2 separate regions of the Homo sapiens genome follow, and region 1 is linked to region 2. Evidence: promoter capture Hi-C in 16 types of primary human blood cells and fetal thymus (Javierre and others, 2016). All regions are on one chromosome and are shown on one strand. The core of a region is centred on a gene start or on the middle of the fragment in contact, and the rest is flanking DNA. Distances in the headings are between cores, read along the strand shown. Region 1 has its middle 55 kb from the start of GAB4. Region 2 holds the start of XKR3 (XK related 3).

Region 1 (4,184 bases), core at 643-3,142, 130 kb before region 2:
CTTCACAAAAAAGCAGGAGTGCCCAGGGTAAGCAAAGGCCCCAAAGGAGCTTCTCCTCACCCATGGCCTCCAGGCCGAAGGCAGAACAGGCATTTCTAGTTCAAGGTGAGGCTGGAGGCATGGGACCTGGAGGAAGAGAAGGTGAACACTTGGCCCAGAGTGTTTGGGATCAGAAACACAGCAATGACCTTGGTTTGGAAAATAAGCGGTATAGCAAGGTAACCCCCGAAGTCCCTTCTAGCTCTGACATCCCATAGCCCCAGGAGCCAAAAATTAGTGTGTCCTAACATCTTGTGATGCCAGGGTTCTAAGGCTGGGGCTCTGGTCTGCCACAGAGTTCATGTCAACATCATCCCACCCACAGCAGCCCCCACACCCCTTTCTCCGTGGTTCCCCAGGAAAGAACATACAGACCCCTGCAAAGCAGCAAGCTCCACCTCTGTCCCAGTCCACTGCTGCAGCCCCTGTTCGGGGTCCTGGCCCTAGAACCACCATGAGTTATTCTACCCACACCGCTTTCTCCCTGCTTCCCCGGGACAGGGCATTCAGACCTATGCAGGGCAGTGCATCTGGCTCCAACACACGGCCCCAGTTCACTCCTGCAGTCCCTGCTCAGCACCCTGGCCCTAGAGTCACCCAAAGTTATCCCCCTGCCTTCAAATGAGAAAGGCAGGCATCAGTATGAGAATTATCCTGACAGAAGAGGACACGGTGGTGTAGACTGGCTCCTGATGGCAGAGGTGTGGCCCTGTGGCAGACAGGAAGGAGATCCTCTTCATGCCCATATTCCCTGGAACAAGCTGATTTCCAGATCCCAGCTTTGTTTCTCTTCTCACTAGACAATCTGGAAAGATCACTCATGCATTTCTCCAAACAGCCCACTGCATAGAATAGCACTTCTCAAAGTGTGGGCCACTTAGCTGGTCCAAGGCAATGCAAGGCAAGAAATGGAGGAAGCATTTAGAAACCTGTAAAGCATTGTGATATTACCATGGCCATATAAGCACAGGATCATTTTTTTTTTGGTAAGTCATTTTATTGTATTTTACAAAAGTAATGGTCTGCAGCAGACCAAAATTAGAAAAAAACAAGTCCTTCACCAGGAAGTTTGAGAAGAACAAGTAGCAGCAGCTTGGAGATCACATCCAACCTCCTCTGCTGAACCTGAAGCTCAGAGAGGAGAAACTGACTTGAAGTCATACTATAAACCTGGATCAAAGCTTACTTTCACAGAATCAAAGCTGAAATTTTGAGTGATTTTTAAGCAAGCCATAAAGTGAATAGGTAGCCATAGACAATAAATACTGCATTTGTTGCATTAAACAAAAATATGTCTGAAACCAGAATGAATGGGAGCTCCACACAGGAAGACACAATCCACCACCATGGACTCATGGAGAAAAGTCAGTGATATCAACCAGCCCAGTGAGGACCCCTCCTCCCACTGCAGCCCCGTCCCTTGTGCCCATCTTGAGTTCTCATCCCGTTGCTACCTACTGCCTTGGCAATGGCTTGAGGCCGTCTGGGGCCTTCATGTGCCCACAGACCTCGGGATCATGTCAGCAATGCAAAGCAAGACCCACTCTCTCCAGCCTACATTCTCACTCCTTTCTACCATCTATCATTGACCATAATGCAGAGAACCAAGGGCAGACAGGAAGTGCAAAATCAGCATCTATTCAAAAGCCACGAGCAAGGCCTGAGGGATGCTGTTCACGCAGCATGGGGCACCCACATTGATTAAAAACAGTGTTGCCCGTAACTGACTTGGCCATGAGCTCAGGGCAGAAACCAGTCAGCTTGCTCTCCTGTGAGATCCAGGCCTCCTGCCATAATTGCTGCTTAGTGTAATCCTCACTGGGAGCATGAAAGTCCTGAGGAGGAAACAAGGCAAGGCAGTGGGCACCAGAATCAGCCCAGTAACTGGGCTAGAAAACAGTCATCTCCTCTGGGAAGTCGTCTTCACTACATCCAACCTGGCTGGAGTCCTGGGAGACTGCCTACAAATGGTGCCAACAGCTTCTGCCTGCAAACACAGTCCAGCTTCTCATCTTGACGTGAGGGCCTTTTATGTGACCTTTCCCTTCATACCACCTTAAAGTATGCCCATTTTATAGATTAAATGACTAAGATTCAGATAGAGAAAATAATTGGCCAGGTCACATGGCAGTGAATGAAGGATTCATAAGTTCTTACAGGAGTCCAGCAGCTACAGCCCTGGTCCATTGGCCAAATCCAGTGGCATCAAGACCTCAGTGTGAGGCCCAGCGCTCGTCCTCACTTGCTGTCTGGCCATGGTCAGTGAGCCTCTCTGACTCAACCTGTAAACCTCCCTGGGCCTGGATTTCCTCATCTGTCAGGTGAGGATATGTCTACCTTCTATTAGTTTGGCATTCTATACTTCCATGGTGCTTACCCACAATCATGTTCCTGCTTTCATCTTCTACTTTTAGATTTGCAGAGTCAACTTGCAAGACAATTAGTCACCCCCTTGGAACATGATCCTACAGTCAGGACAATGGGAGGGTGCTGGGGGTCTGTGGTGTGGTCACGAGCAAGCTTTCCCCTCATTACTCTTTATCACATTAAACAGCTGCACCTGCAGCAATATTACCAAGCACTAGTTCTAATAATGATATATTTTAAAGAAAACACCTAAGCACAATGTAGTGTTTCTTAATTGATTTAAGCAGCATTTATGACAGTTACTCTAGCCCTGTTCTTGTCCCTAGATCCTGAGTACAGTGCCCTAGATTTGTACAAGGTTCCACAGAGCTTCGAGCTGGCTTAGCACCCAATACCCTCATCTCCCCAGTGCATGTCCTCTGACTACCACAGAAGACGTTGCTTGAGCAGTGGTTTAACTCACTCATTTCCCAGGAGCATTTATTAGATAATATATCAGATTAGCCAATCACCTCCCACAGATGATTAAAAAAAATCAAAAGAGCTGCCAGAGGGGAGATAACAGCATCTTCTCTCTTAGTCCCTCTTTTTTCTTGCAATTCTGCCCTATCCAAGTCTTCCTTGCCCCACACACAATAAACAAATAGGGGCAAAAAGGCAGACAGATGGACAGAACCTACCATGCACACACACATACACACACATAGAGAGAGGGAGAGAGAGAGAGATGGAAAAATATTCACAACAGAAAAAAGAACATAGAATGCCATTTTTTCCCAAAGAATGGAACTTCATACTCTTAGGAAAATAACAATTCCCCAAATTACTCTTAAGCTCCTAATGCTTCTGGAAATTTACATACGATGGCTCCCTGAGCAAGGTCTGCTGCTCCCAGAGAAACTGGCGTAGCCTGATGCATGTGCCTTGGTACAAGCACTTTCCAGAGCTTGTGTGCAAGGGAACATAAATCCAAACCATAATGTGCTTATAGAACATGTGGAAGAATTTCATAAACAATAAAATCCTATACTTTTCTGTCTTGACTCTCAAACTGGCTTGTTGGCAAGTGGTATCCAAAGCCACAGGAAAAATGTAGCACTTTTTCCTGGAGCTATATTCTCTAATATTCAACAAAGAAAAATATGCATTTATGTTAAAACAAGTGTTTATGAACTACATGCCTGAGTCTTTTTGTCCAACTTTAATTTACAATCAAGATATATGTGTAGGTTTGTTACATGGGTATATTGTATGGTGCTGAGGTTCGGAGCATGAGTGAATCCATCACCCAGGTAGTGAGCCTAGAAACCCGTAGGTAGTTTTTATCAACCCTTACACCCCTCCCTCTCTCCTCGCTCTTGTATTCCCAAAAGTCTATTGCTCCCATTTTTATTACCATGCATACCCAATGTTTAGCTCCCACTTATAAGTGAGAACATGTGATATTTGATTTTCTGTTTCTGCATCTGTTTGTTTAGGATGATGGTTTCCAGCTGCATCCACATGGCAGCAAAGGGCTTAATTTCATTCTTTTTTTATAGGTGTGTAGTACTTCATAGTGTATATGTGCCACGTTTTATTTATTCTACCCATAATTGATGGGCACCTGGGTTCATTCCATGTCTTTGCTTTTGTGAAAAAAAACTACCATTGAATGGTAGTACTGTTTTAAGTTCTCTGAGAAATTTCCACACTGCTCTCCACAGTGGTTGAACTGACTTAAATTCCCATCAACAGTGTATACCCACTCCTTTTTCAACAGCCTCATCAATGTGTTA
Region 2 (4,004 bases), core at 1,188-3,687:
CTTATCCTATGAATTAGACTTGAATTGGTCACTTTCAGCTATTTTCCAAAGTTTACTGGGAAAGGTCAGAGAAGGAAAATCATTATCTTTATCTGGCTCAGAGACATAAAGTATAATGTGGCCTTTTTATCAAGGATCCTTGTGGCAAAACCTGAAAATCATTGATTCAGTCATTGACCTTAAGTCTGAATCCCCAGGGATTATGTGTTCACACAATGGAGACCCAGAGGAGGCTTTTGAACCAGTTGATTCATCTTTAGGAGAAACATCTTGAGTTTCTGCAGAAACATGTGCCATCTCAAATAAGTAATTCTTTAGCGACTTTTCCAGCCTGCATGTGTTTCAAGACTGCAGCTTCAAATGCTGCTTCAGTAGTCTACTCAGGTAAAGTAATTGAGATCACCACAGTGGTTTCCAACCTGAGTAGCAATGGCATCACAAGAGGACTTTGGTCACCTAGCAACAAACATAAAAATTTGGCCAAGACTGTTTACTTTCCAGTCTCAGAAATGTATCTGGTAAAAATAAAATATAGAATGATTACTTACACAGTTTATTCTGCAAAAGTTTCATGCCTGCAGAATCTTTTAAATTAATAAGGAGGGCCAGGCATGGTGGCTCATGCCTGCAATCCCAGCGCTTTGGGAGGCCGGGACAGGCGGATCATGAGGTCATGAGTTCGAGACCAGCCTGACCACCATGGTGACACCCTGTCTCTACTAAAAATACAAAAATTAGCCAGGTGTGGTCCATGTGCCTGTAGTCCCAGGTCTCGGGAGGCTGAGGCAGAAGAATCGTTTGAACCCAGGAGGCGGAAGCTGCAGTGAGCTGAGATTGTGCCACTGCACTCCAGCCTGGGCAACAGAGCAAGACTCTGTCTTAAGAAAATAATAAATAAATAAATAAATAAATAAATAAATAAATTAATTAATATCCTCAATCCCTGAAATAAACATAATTTTCTCCTTGACACACACAGTCTTACTAGATTGGTGCGAGGAGCATAGGGCCTGGTAATTGGACGGTGCAAAAAAATAAAAATAAATATTTTAAAAACTCTCTCAGCTTGGCATGTTGGATTGAAAACTGATGCAGTGTAAAACATATATGGTAAAAAGACATGGCCATATAGACAAAAGGTAGGTTAATGGTTGTCAGGGGCTGGGGAATAGAAAGAACTGTTAAGTAGATAATGGGGTTTCCTGTTTGATGATAGAAATGTTTTAATAATATAATTTTGAATAATGTAATTTTGTATTATGTGAAACATACCTTAAAAAATTAAAATAAAATCAAATATGAATAAAACTGATTAGATTTCAGAATAAAAAGTTATTCATGTATGTATCTATTCAAAACATTTTTTATTCATATCATAGAATAAATAATACTTTCATTTGGTATGTCTGTAAATATCTGACATGTTAATTATGTAAGATTTTAAAAGCAAGTGACCTACTTATAAGGAGATCCCAAAGAGTGGGAGATTTAAAAATGTAATAATAACAAGAAAGTGTTTTAAGTAAAGTAAATTTGTATGTATGTCTAAGCAGAAAATTTTATTATTTGGTTCCAAGAGCCAAATATCTATTTAAAAAATATTTCTTAAGGAATAATCTCTGTGTCCTGCAACGTAAAGTTATCATTATAAAACAGGAGTCAAATTTGTGAATTAATCTTAGAATTGAATAAAATATTTCTTCTCTTTGAAAAATAATCATGCCCCATTTACAGTAAGAATTTTTATATGTTCATGCTTGAGAGGTGGTATATTAAAATTCTAATGCCTTGGCTTTAAGTGTTGAATATGTGTGGAATAAAAAAATAATGATTTTGATATTTCTTATACTGTAGGAGGCAGTTCTCTCATACTGGAAAGAGGTGTCATTGTTAGAAGCTTGTCTTGGTTTAACATAGTTTAAGTTTTGGGGGTGTATTTTGTTTAGTTCAAAATTTTCCATATTAGCAGTAAGTAACAAAAATGTCCAGATCAGAAAACTCTTTGTGAAAATAAAACAGGTGCTCCTACCAGATGTGGTTCATCAATTTTGACAGAATTTTCATTTAAAAAAGGCAAAATTAAAATTTGTTTAATTGTTTGCTTTCTGGGGAATTTTCTTGTTGCTCTGTCTGAAGGAAGTACAGACTTCTTTTGTGATGGGAGGGGATGAATGGCTACTAGACAGCAGCAAAAGATGGGCCATGGGTGCGAAGAGAAGAGGGAGTTAATGGGAGAATCAGAAAAATATCACCTTAAATGTAGGACAATCGAAGTCAAATTGTGGCTGAGCGTTTTGGGGAACTAAGATGTGTGACTCTGTAGGGAGGAAGAATGCCTTGGTGTTTTCAAGGGAAGATGACTCAGCTAGTGCAGTCACCTGACTCCAAACTGCAAGCCTACTTTAGTCATAAAAAGGCAAGAAAATAAGCAATTTTACCTGCAAAGCAAAGGACGTAGTGTTGAAAACGAGACCAGAAATGGTGCTGTTAAAGAGGTGAACAAAAGCATTTACTTTTTGAACGAGTTTCAAAACTGTGAGGGTGGCAAATAGGCAAGGTAAGTAGGAGCAGCCCTCGACCATCTCAGATCAGCTTCTTCAGCCTACCTTGACCTCTGCCTGTCTCAGCTGGGGATCTTAACATAAATCTCTGGATATCAGGGGTGGCTTTTCCCGAGTCTTGAGCCTAGAAACTCCCTCTCTTGATTCTGATTTTCAGAGAAGAGAAGCAGCTGCTTAGCATTTGGGTGGGACAGTGGTTGTTACTAATATATTACAAATTTCAGCATGTTTTTAAACATCAGAAGGAGAAAGTGCTTCGTATTTAAGTGAAATCTCAAAGGGGCAGAAATCTACCATATTTTTTGTTATTCAGATGCAGTGATGCACTGGCTATGTGAGTACAAGAAACAAGTTCACTTAATCACAAACACATGCCTAAATTCCATTGTTCAGTGACTTCACTTTCACTTTCTACCTTGAATTTTAGACTCTGGAAGACCCATTTCTAAACTCTGTGGCCCTTTTCATATGTGCATATTTTCATAAGTGTTTTCCAGAAATAAATTATAGAGGTCCTTCTGTGAGTCCAAAGGAGAAGGAAGTGGTTGGGGCAGCCAGAAAGGTGCAATCTGCATTAATATCATATTCGATGTATGGATTGCTGGGGAGAGAGTGGGATATATTTCTTATAATGTTGGATGTATTTTTCCCCTATCCTGAGGCCCAGAAACTCTGATGTCTCTGCAGTTGTCTTTCCATGCTTTCCTTTATACCCCTCGCCTACTTCTGTAATTTCTCTCTCTACTCTCCCTCCTCCTTCCCACCCTTTTTCTTTCCATTTGTGCTCTCTCCCTCCATTCCTTCTTTTTCCCTTTTCTTTCTTTTTGTGGGTATCTGGTAGCTGCAACTTATTTTCTTTCTGCTTTTCTTACTCACTTACTCTATTTACTAGGTATTTAACAATTGTCTTTAAAAGTAACATCCTTTCTTTCTTAAAATTTTATCCCTAATGGACATTATTTGGGGAAAAACATTTTTATGGTGCCTCTAGATAAGTAATTATATCATCTGCACATGATTCCCGTATTTTCTTACATGCCCGTTCCTCGTAGGTGGAAATGGGTACTTCATTGTACTCTTCTCTCTTTATTTACAAGAGTGTTTTTTCTGTCTCATCCCTTTAAATAACACATTGTCTCTCTTTTTGTGACATTGAATTAATTAGGTCAGATGCGATTTTTCTCATCTATTCATTTGAAGACTGTTTCATATTGCTTCTAGGGCCTATTTGCAAGCAACAAATTATTTTGTTGTTGTTGTTGTTTTGTTTTGTTTTTTAATTTTTGGACCATTTGTCTCATCACTCCAACAAGCAAGAATTAGTTCTCATCATTAAGATCCCTTCAAGATTTCATTCACTTGTTTCAGCAGCCTTGAATTATCATCACCTGGACCTGTTGTTACATCAAGAATCTCTCATTTCTAATGTTCTACTTTGGACAC

The links. Contacts are between HindIII fragments. The CHiCAGO score rates a contact against its expected background, and 5 or more counts as called.
Region 1: a fragment that was not itself captured here is called in contact with the fragment with the promoter of XKR3 in region 2 in 1 of 17 cell types (naive B cells); the score reaches 5.2 in naive B cells.

The regions. Positions count from the first base shown.
Region 1 is chr22:16,951,585-16,955,768 of GRCh38, reverse strand. No RefSeq gene overlaps it. Among named protein-coding and RNA genes, the nearest start is that of GAB4, 55 kb to the left of the region's middle. The HindIII fragment of the contact is 1,339 bases long and covers 1,223-2,561 here.
Region 2 is chr22:16,823,844-16,827,847 of GRCh38, reverse strand. XKR3 (XK related 3) reads left to right here and starts at 2,437. Exons shown (of 4, transcript NM_001386955.1): 1 at 2,437-2,557. It also overlaps the pseudogene HSFY1P1. The HindIII fragment of the contact is 7,309 bases long and covers 1,900-4,004 here.